2 separate regions of the Homo sapiens genome follow, and region 2 is linked to region 1. The links are contacts of gene promoters, found by promoter capture Hi-C in human tissues and cell types (Jung and others, 2019). All regions are on one chromosome and are shown on one strand. Each heading gives the region's core, a stretch centred on a gene start or on the middle of the fragment in contact. The rest is flanking DNA. Distances are from core to core; before and after follow the strand shown. Region 1 holds the start of ANKRD50 (ankyrin repeat domain containing 50). Region 2 has its middle 87 kb from the start of FAT4.

Region 1 (5,450 bases), core at 1-2,500:
CCCTAATTCTGGAGAATTTATACTCTGCCTCTTTTGCTTGTGTTTTAGGAAAGAAGCCCAAAATTCAGGGTACATGAATTAAAATTAAATACTAAGATCAGTAAACCTCAATTGGCACGAATAAACAATATGAAAGAGTAAGCACAAACACGATCTATTTGTTTATCCATCTTTCTTATTGTGATAGCTATACTATGAAATTTCTAAAACTAGATGGGAGACTGGCTTAATATTTTGGCAAATAACCACATGCAAGTTAATGAGGAATGGGAAATAGAGCACTCTGGATTTTAGCATAAACAATTAAAATAAAAAATGCTACATTTCCTATTCCATCAGTTGACGGTATACTTATTTTCCCGGGAGAAATTTGGAATCTAAGCAACTCAGGTCCAGTAAGTGCAAACAACTGACATGCTTAGTCCAACAGGCCCCTGTGAGCAGGCCCTCTAGGGCATTTCCTGACGCCACATGACCAAGACCTTCCCCCCTAGTGGACGCTGCGGGTGATCAAGTGGCCCTGAGGAGCAGGGGCCTGAGACCCAGTCAAGCCTGCTGTCAACCTCCATCTGATGGAGGCCACGTCCTTTTCATGAGGCTGGTAGGAATGTCGCTGTATACCCCCACTATTTCTATTTTCGCAACATTCTTCCCAGTCTTTTCCTTCCTTCTCTTCGTCCCAGCCAAAGTAAAAGCATCCCTGGAATTTAATGGACTGAAAGGAGACCGGACGACTGAGGGGTAGAACGGGGCCCGAAGTGGCTTTGGAAGCAACGGGGTTAAGGGAGAGGCAAAAGGGTTGAGCAGAGAGAGGCAAGAGGCAATCTCCCCCTACCCAACTGCCCCTCCCAGGAGCAGATACGGCACCAACAGCCGGCGAGTCCCTCCGGCCTGGAAGACAAAGGAAGGATCAGGGCCCAGTGGTGACGGGGAGGGTGGGGGCAACGACTCGCGTGAGCTCGGAGACGTGAGAACGCAGCCCCCGCCCCGTTCTCCGCCTCCCCTGAGAAAGGCGGGGCCCCCACGCCGCCCCGAGACAGGTCTCCCCGCCGCGCCGGCAGCGGGTCCCAGGCGGCCGCACACGCCCAGGCACGGGATGCTGCGGGAGAGCGCGGTGGGGGAGGGGAAGGACGCGGAGGCGGAGCCGGCGGGCAAAGAAAGGCCGAGCGGCGGGGCGGGGGCGGGGGCGGGGGCGGGGTCTGGGCTGGGCGGGCGGGGCGGAGCCGGCCGGCCGGGGGCTGCCTGAGACAGTTACTGCCCTGACGGCGGCGGCGGCGGCGGTTGGCCGGTGGGGGCTGGGGCGAGCACGACCGATTCTGCTGGGAAAGCTGGAACTGGCAGCCGCCGGGGGCCAAGAGGAGGATCCGGAGCTGGGAGCGTGCCCCGGGCCCGGCGGAGGAGGCGGCTGCAGTTGGAGTGGAGTCTTGGGAGCGCTGCTGGCAGCGACTTCTCAGCGAAGCAAGTGTCTGAGACTGAGAGTCCCTAACAGCGGCAGCGGCGGCCACGGCGGCGGCTGGGGCCGAGGTAACCGGGGGGCGGCGGCGGCGGTGGAAGCGAGGCCCCTCCCTCGGGTTGGAAGCTGGGAGGCCGAGGCCGTGGCTTGGACCTGACCCAACCACCCACCCTCTCCGGCCTCGAGCCCCAGATTTGCCCTCTTCCCTCGCACCGCCGTCGGCCGGGTGGGAGCGGGAGCGGGGCATGGGGCGGGAGCGCAGAGGCGGAAGCCGACCGGGAGGCGACCCCTCGTCTGGGATTGGCAAGGACCTCAGTCACCCCCTCCCCCTTCAAAAGACACACCCCAATCTCGGTGCGGGGCGGGGTGCAGAGGCGCTCCCAGCCTCTGGAAGGGCAGACCTCGGTGTGGAGGCTGCACCTTCGCTCGTGGCCTCTCTGAGGTGGCTCCCCTGTGGCTCCTCTGGGCGGTTCCAACCCAAGGTGGTGCCCGGCGCTGGGAATCCCGGAGTTCCTTTTGTCTGTCAGCTGAAACTGGAGGCCGGACCTGTGGGCAGACACCCACCAGCACCGAAGCACTCTACTCTTTATCCCTTTCCTGTCTTGGAAGGAATTTCTCTCTAGCAGCCTTTTCTCCGGCCAGACTGGTAGATTTTATCCCTGACCTCCATCCTTGGCCCAGAGGAAGGAAGGATTCACATTTTACTTGTGTTTGCTTTATCATTCTTATAAGAACAGTCATCCCCCATCGTTTTTGTTTTTTTTTTTTAAACCGTTTCCCATCCAGCTGCAACCCTGGTAATCTTCCCCTAGATTTTTGCACATTATCAACAAAGAAGTGTGGCTGGAGGAGTAGACAGTCCTTGACTGACTGGACTGTGTAAGTTAATAGAGCTTCCTTAGCTGGCGCTGTTCTACCAGTCTACTGTGAATGAGCGTTTTGCCTGGAGTTAAGGGTGTTACTGTATGTGCGTAAAGTTTCTCCCCCCCTCCTTTGCTATGGTGAAGTTGCAAAAATCTTGGGTAACTTGATTAAAATGTGGCTGTTTGGGAAGCATAACAATGAGGAAGAAAAATGCAGAAGGGAGAATGTGATTATTTCAGTGGTTTTTGTCCAACTTTTTGAAAGTGCCAAAGGTGAAGTACGTGGATTTTTGAGATTACGTTAACTGGTACACTGCAACCTTTATTGTCCTTAATAAGTTTTTAACATATGATATTTTGCACTGAGGTATTTTTGTTTGTTTTATTTTAGTTACTTGTGGAAATTGTTGATTACCCGGACGTCTTAAAACCAAGAAACCTGTGAACAGGTTCATTAAGAATCTGCTGTCTTGAAAAATGCATATTATGAATGCTTTGAATTAAGAAGGTGTTAACAGTGGTTGTCATTTCTGCCACATAAGAGACTATAATCTGAAACAGTTCCTGGCAGTTGCCCAGATGCCTGAAACTGGCACGATCTAGTACTCTTGAGTGATCATCCTTCAACGAGAAATACAGAGCTACTTACATACTGTACCTCATACCGTATAAATGTAATCTCTCTGATGCCATTTAATGCAGTGGACCTCTTTTCAGAATCTAATTGTCAGATGCAGAATTAACACTTGGAATCTGGAGAAGCATTTTGTACAAATTGAAAGATTGGGTTTTTTCTTTAGTTTTCCACATGTATTGTCTCATCTCTGTTCTTGAAACATCCACAATCACATAAACTCCAGTTATAACCATGGAGTTATGTGACTCATTAAAATTTAGGAAAAGTGTTGCTGAGCTGTGGAATCAGGCGTTTCTCCCTCAGTTCAACAACTAATACATAGACTGCTGATCAAGAATAAGGAACCAAATAAAGTCATGCACGTTCTGTTGACAGAGGAACTCTGTGGCTGTTGAATTTTACTGTAACTAGTTACTCTGTCTTCAGAGTCAACTTAATATACAAGTTATGTCATAATGGATGGAAAGACCTGTGTTGATGTATCCAGACTCTAGCAAATGAAGATAAAAAACCCGTTATGACTAATCCTTGGGAAGAGAAAGTCTGCAAAATGGCTCAAACCAGTTTACTGCAAGGGAAGCAGTTTTACTGTAGGGAGTGGGTTTTCCACAAGCTTCAGCATTGCCTCCAGGAGAAAAGTAACTGCTGCAATAGTGCTGTCAATGCACCATCACTTGTAATGAATTCTGGGAATAATGCTAGTGGTGTCTCTGGAAAGGGAGCTGCCTGGGGTGTGTTGTTGGTAGGAGGGCCTGGCAGTGGCAAGACGGCCCTATGTACTGAACTCTTATGGCCAAGTTCACCTGCAAGTTTGCAGAGAGGTTTACATCGCCAAGCTTTGGCCTTTCATTTCTGCAAAGCCCAGGACTCTGATACTTTGTGTGTTGGAGGGTTTATTAGAGGTCTAGTAGCCCAGATCTGCCGCAGTGGACTACTCCAAGGATATGAGGACAAGCTAAGGGATCCAGCAGTCCAAAGCCTCTTACAGCCTGGGGAGTGCGAGAGAAACCCAGCCGAAGCATTTAAAAGGTAACAATAAAAATGTCATGGTGTTCAGATTTCTATGCTGAAATTAAATTAATTTTTAGTTGTAGTTTTTTGTTTTAACTTTGTGGGTTACTTTTACTGGTGCTGTACATTTGGCCTTAATCTGAAGTTATGAGTATACCTGTTTACTTTGAATATCAAAGGAAGTAAAATTTAGGTTTTGGTATTGCACAGCATATGGATTAAAATGGATTAAAAGTGTATCTTAATTTTACTTAATAACATAATGTTACTTACATTGCCTATAAATGGTAAGGGAAATTTGTTCTTATGGTAGAGAAGCACATTTAGCTGTCTGGAAATAGGTTACATTTTCAGAGGGTGAACTGAACTTAGAGTAATTATCAGTATAGCATCTAGTATCTTTTTATTTTTTTCCTTATAGTAGTAGTATTTTTTTAAGTAAGAAAGGTTTTCTTTAAAGGAGATTATTGGCCACTGAGAATCTGAAGAAAATTTGCTGATGAGTTTTGGGATTTATTCTCCTATTAACTAACTAATTGAAAAACTGGTATTTAGAAGTATGTGAATTTATAAAATAGCGAACATTTGGGATCATCTTACTACTTTTACTTTTAGTGAGTGGTACAAAGAAAGTGTTTTTTCCTAACTTCAGCAAAGCTTTTTTTCCATGGTAAATGGATTGGTCCAGGAAGTGAGCAAGTTGCTTTCCAGAGTGGTTTCAGATTCAAATCTGTTCAAGAAAATATAATTCCTTGAAAACATTTTTTTTTGCATATCATGCCTCTGCTCATTGTAAAAGTAGCAGGCAAATTGTTAGTTTGTGCTTCACTTCTGCTTGAATTACCCATTTTGCCATAAGCTTTTTCTCTACAATAACATTCTTAGCGGGCAAAAGTTTGTTCTCCAAAGATTCTGGTATACTGTGCACTGGAGGTTTGTGTGTGTGTGTGTGTGTGGCTCTCTTCTGCTTGAGTGTGTTTCTAGGAGAGATTTGAATCACTCTAAAAAGAGTGATGTTTGTTTTTATGATATCCTCAAATCTAATGGGGTGAAATCTATACATTTTGAAAGTAATATTGAAAATATTTAATAGTAATTACAGTAAACAGTAAGTGTCAGTCATTATTCTAAGTGCTTTACAAATATTAGATCATTTAATCCTCATAATAATCCTGTGAGGTAGTTACTACTCCCATTTTATAGATGAGGAAACTAAGGTACAGAGAGGCTAAATAAATTGTTCAAGGTTACAGACTAGTAAATGGCAGGGCTGAGATTTTAAATGTGTGTGTGTGTATGTGTGTGTGTGTGTGTGTGTGTGTGTGTATGTGTTAGTAATCTTAGAAATTCTCTGGGGGACTTGATGGGAAGAGGAGGGGTTTAGAAGGTTATGTATGGCAAAGCTGGAGAACAGGAGTTGTGTCACAGTGTGGTTTGAGTGTGGTTTTCAGATTACCCATATAGTGATAGAGGGAGTGGTATTCTA
Region 2 (5,450 bases), core at 1,801-4,300, 510 kb before region 1:
CTCTATATGTAATATCTTAGAAAATATATTTATGAAATATATCAGTGATAAATATTTAAAACTGTTTAACTGTCTAATTCAATATCTGGATTATCCATAGGGCTGCATTATTTTCTATTTTTCTCATAATGTGGAGAAGAATATCAAATCCAGACCTCCCCTACTTTCCAGAGGACTATTTATAAAGACTATATGAATGTAATCATCATCTAAAATTTCAGTGTTTCAGCTTTTCTTTTTCACCAGTCAACTTTGTTTTATTACATTAAGGAATAGCTGAACATTTGCAACAGTTTTCCAGTCTAACAAATTCATTTTCTTAGTGAAGACACTGATTTTTAATGTCTTAATTGTCTTATTTGTAAAATGAGAAAAATCAAACTATAAATATTTTAGATCTGTGGTTTGGCCAATATGATATTTCTAATGAAGTGTCAAAATAGGAGATTTAATACAATGTGAGTTTAAATTCGTAATTATGCACTGTTTACTCCACTTACTATTTTTAGCAATTAGTTGGTGTTTAGAGGCTGGTGTTCTGGAGTCCTATTGAGAGGTGACAGCGTGCTGGTAGTCTTCACAGCCCTTGCTCGCTCTCGGCGCCTCCTCTGCCTGGGCTCCCACTTTGGTGGCACTTCAGGGGCCCTTCAGCCCACCACTGCACTGTGGGAGCCCATTTCTGGGCTGGCCAAGGTCGGAGCCGGCTCCCTCAGCTTACAGGGAGGTGTGGAGGGAGAGGCGCGAGCGGGAACCGGCTGCGCACGGCGCTTGCGGGCCAGCTGGAGTTCCGGGTGGGCGTGGGCTTGGCGGGCCCTGCACTCGGAGCAGCCGGCCGGAGCAGCCGGCCAGCCCTGCCGGCCCCAGGCAATAAGCGGCTTAGCACCCGGGCCAGCGGATGCGGAGGGTGTACTGGTCCCCCAGCAGTGCCAGCCCACCGGCGCTGCGCTCAATTTCTCGTGGGCCTTACCTGCCTTCCCGCGGGGCAGGGCTCTGGACCTGCGGCCCGCCATGCCTGAGCCTTCCACTCCTCCACGGGCTCCTGTGCGCCCCAGCCTCCCCGATGAGTGCCACCCGCTGCTCCACGGCACCCAGTCCCATCAACCACCCAAGGGCTGAGGAGTGCGGGCACACTGCGCGGGACTGGCAGGCAGCTCCACCTGCAGCCCCAGTGCGGGATCCACTGGGTGAAGCCAGCTGGGCTCCTGAGTCTGGTGGGGAAGTGGAGAACCTTTATGTCTAGCTCAGGGATTGTAAATACACCAATCAGCACCCTGTGTCTAGCTCAGGGTTTGTGAATGCACCAATGGACACTCTGTATCTAGCTACTCTGGTGGGGCCTTGGAGAACCTTTATGTCTAGCTCAGGGATTGTAAATACACCAATCGGCACCCTGTCAAAACAGACCACTTGGCTCTACCAATCAGCAGGATGTGGGTGGGGCCAGATAAGAGAATAAAAGCAGGCTGCCCCAGCCAGCAGTGGCAATCTGCTGAGGTCCCTTTCCACACCGTGGAAGCTTTGTTCTTTTGCTCTTTGCAATAAATCTTGCTGCTGCTTGCTCTTTGGGTCCAGACTGCTTTTATGAGCTGTATCTCTCACCATGAAGGTCTGCAGATTGACTCGTGAGACCACGAGCCCACCGGCAGGAACGAACAATTCCAGAGGCGCTGCCTTAAGAGCTGTAACACTCCCCGTGAAAGTCTACAGTTTCGCTCCTGAGCCGGTGAGACCACGAACCCAACAGAAGGAAGAAACTCTGAACACATCTGAACGTCAGAAAGAGCGAACTCCAGACGTGCCACCTTAAGAGCTGTAACACTCACCCCGAGGGTTTGCCGCTTCATTCTTGAAGTCAGTGAGACCAAGAACCCACCCAGTCCAGACACACTGAGTAAACCTCATTTATTTATGGCCGTGGATCACATTCCAAGGAAGCGTGGCTTCTCATTGCCTCTGAGAATTTTAACATTCTTGAGCATACCTGAAAGTGAAAACCAAATCTCAGGGTGCTTTTCTTTAGTATATATTTTAAATGCTTTATATCTAACTTTTGAGTTGGTGCAACACTGCCTAAATATACTCCTCTTTCTTAAACTGTACAAGTGTTCTTGTAACAAGCTATTTTTTGGTCTCAAATGGAATGAGTTATTTTAAAAAGGTCATATATTTCTTCTCTCATTGAATTTGGCAAATAAGGTGGCTTTTTTAAGACACTTTGACATTGGTGCTTTTTGCTAGGTGGATCACTATGAATGATAAATCTCTGTGATGGTCTGTGACAAGGAACAACATTTATTAACATACACACATTTACACCTTTTCTATTTCCTCTCTTCCACCTTCTGCATTCTGATGTTAATTTTTGCTTTGCACCCTAGCTCTTTGTTCCACCATCTTCTCGTTGTTTTGTGAGGAAAGGTCTGCTTTTGCCAGCCTAAGTCCCAAAATGTTAGTGACAAGGTAGAAAATGTAGGCAGAGAAAGATAAGGCTGTAGAGATCATTTGAAAGACTGTGGTTTTGTTTGCTGGGATATTTCCCAGACCTTTGCTTATTACAAAAAAAAGAGAATAAAATCAAAGCATAGGAAAAGTAAAACAAAACCACTAAAAAATTCAACAAAAAATCTGAGATTTTTAACTTTATACATTAGAATTCAGAAAATAATGGAGATAGAAAAGGAGCAAATGTGGGGATTTGGAGGAAGTGAAAGTTCAGATGTGTGAGAGGATGAAAAAGGAGAGAATATGGGAAGTTAAGGACTTTTTACTTTGGGGTTATGAATTGGATATCCTTTAATATTCTTATATAAATGTATTTCAAGACTTGTCATTAATGGCTTTTGGCAGCTTGATTATATCTTTAATTGGGTCACTAACATGAGCCTGAGCCACATGGGAGTCCATCTGGATTCCTCCATGACTTGAACTTGTCACAACTGCTTTGCATGCTGCCAAAGTGAGTATGTTTCTCTTTCATCCTCATGCTTCTTGGTCTCCTGGACAGCGTTTGGCCAGATTCACCATACTGTCCTACTGGAACACAAAATCCTCTTTCAGATTCCATGACACCATTTCCTTCTAGTTTTTCTTCTAACTCTCTGGCCACTCGTCCTGTGAGCCTTTCCCCTCGGCCCCATCAGCAGTTTCTCAGGACTCAGTTCCAGGTCTTTCTACTCCACTGCATACCCTGTCCTGTGGGGAGCTCTCCTAAATCCATGCTTTTGGACACTATCTGTGGTTTGATGATTCCAAGTGTATATCTGCAATCTGGATTCAGATCATTGTGCACTTGAAATTTTCACTTGGATGTCAGGCTAAGTTCTCAAAATTAAAATCCTAAAACAGAATTTCTGCTTTTACCCATAAAACCTCATTAACTGTACTTGAGCATATATTACTATCATCCTTTCTATTTAGTTCTTCTTTTTATTTTAACCCCCACATCTAATCCATCAAATCTGTCAATTCTTTCTCTAAAATATATCTCGCATCTGTACATTTCTTTCTGTCTTCTCCAGGGTGACCCTAGTTACTTCTGCTTGTCTCCACCTTCTTCCTCTATTGCTTATTCAAGTCAATCTTTAAACAATTATAAAATAATATTCACACACTCACACCCACACACACACAAATATACAGAAATTGGAGACAGCATACTCTATTAAAATTTTTCAGTGTCTTCCTATTTTTTTTCAGAGAAAATCTGAATTTATAATATTGGTGTATAGGAACCTGTATGGCCTGACCCATTCTCATTTGCCCAGCCTCATATCAGTTTCCCTCTCTCCACCTTCCAGCTACATGGGCCTCATTTACTTCTTGAATGTCCTAGCTATGTCTCTTTTTGGGGACTTTGTATATATAATTGCTGTTATTTTAAGGGCTTTTATTTAACTAATTACAGTTAGGCGATTGTCATATTGCTGGACACAGTTTAAATATCACCTCTTCAGAGATATTCCTTGATTATGCTTAGTAATCAAGAACAATCTTGATTAGTAGAATAGCCTCCTCCTATTACTCTTTCAGGAGTATCAGTATCCTTCAATGCATTTGGGCATTTATAAGCAATTTATTGGTTACTTATTTACTTCTTCCTCACTGAATGAGGAAAGTAAAGATAGTAAATATAGCCTCCTTCTATTATGCTTTCAGAAGTATCAGTGGCCTTCCTAGAATTTGGGCATTTATAACTCATTTATTGGTTACTTATTATGTTCTTCCTAGTTGAAAGCTACGAAAGGGCAAGATATTTGTTTTATTCACTGAGTGCACCGTTTGGCATAAAAAAAAGCATTCAATAAATATTAGCTTAGTGGGAAACTTTTAAAAAATTAGTTTATTTCCTTTGGCGTACCTTGGTGGATATTTGCTAGGTCTTCAACTCACAGCCTGTTAATATAAGTATTTCTTTAAGAGAAATACCTTTTTAAGAAGATCTAGTTACTCCTATAACTACTGCAACCACTTATTTAGGGTAAACTCTTTTCTAGCCACTACATGAAGCTCTCTTACATACTGTGTGTCATCCACTATATTATTATTTCTATCTCCATTTATAAAAGTAAATAAATCGAAGCTTTGAGAGGCCAAGTTCGTAATGTTCTAGAGTTGAATTGGGAAAGCAGTTTCATAATGCCATAAAGTTTCACAGTGTTCACCATTCTCATCTCTGAGCAAGCCACTAACCATGGAATTATCCTAGGGTCATGGTGAGTGAACTGTTTCATTCCTCCTAGTGCATTCCATGCTGTTCAACTGTAGAGCTTATCACTTTCTTTCAGAAGGGTCCAAATCCAAGGATTAAGAGGCACTAGAAAAAGCTTCCAAAATTTTCTACCCTTCACAAAACATATATGAATTGAAACTTACATGCTTTTCATTTAAGTATCATTGATAACCTCTCATTTCCCAAAGAAGGAGAAAAAAGGACGAATTCTACCACTTACTCTGGTCATCAAAAACTTAATATTCTTACTTCAGAATGATTGATGCACCAAGTGAACCATTTACCATTCTCTGTTTGACACATTTGGTAATATACAAACATAGTTTTCTCATTTTAGAAAGTGGTGTGGTCAACTAAGAGGGATTTCATTGTCTGGCACTTCAGCACTGCCCTTTCATTTAAATGGGAAAATTGTCATGTAAGCTTCTAAGTTTGGGATGGTTTATTATACAAAAATAGATAACTGGAACACCTTGATACTAAATGTGAAGATGATAGTGTTTTAGGAACAATTTGTTGCAAATAGACATAGGTAAATAAATAGCAATTAGAAATGTGTCTCTTCCTATCTCTAAAATCATGCACACTTTTGGTCAGAAGTACAAGTCATAACCTGAGATTTGCAATGGGCATCTTGTGAGGGCAATCTTGTGGGACTGAGCCCTTGCATGATCTGATTCCAACCCCAGGTAGGAAGTTGCAGAATTAAACTGAATCGTAG

The links. Contacts are between HindIII fragments. The study calls those that stand out against the background at their distance.
Region 2: a fragment that was not itself captured here is called in contact with the fragment with the promoter of ANKRD50 in region 1 in 1 of the 25 tissues and cell types used here (H1 embryonic stem cells).

What each region holds. Positions count from the first base shown.
Region 1 is chr4:124,708,532-124,713,981 of GRCh38, reverse strand. It overlaps ANKRD50 (ankyrin repeat domain containing 50), which reads left to right and starts at 1,250. Exons shown (of 5, transcript NM_020337.3): 1 at 1,250-1,524; 2 at 2,708-3,982. The coding sequence starts at 3,471. RefSeq lists enhancers at 711-1,276, 1,277-1,842 and silencers at 994-1,373, 1,524-1,763. The HindIII fragment of the contact is 11,202 bases long and covers 1-4,205 here.
Region 2 is chr4:125,225,254-125,230,703 of GRCh38, reverse strand. No RefSeq gene overlaps it. Among named protein-coding and RNA genes, the nearest start is that of FAT4, 87 kb to the left of the region's middle. The HindIII fragment of the contact is 5,504 bases long and covers 299-5,450 here.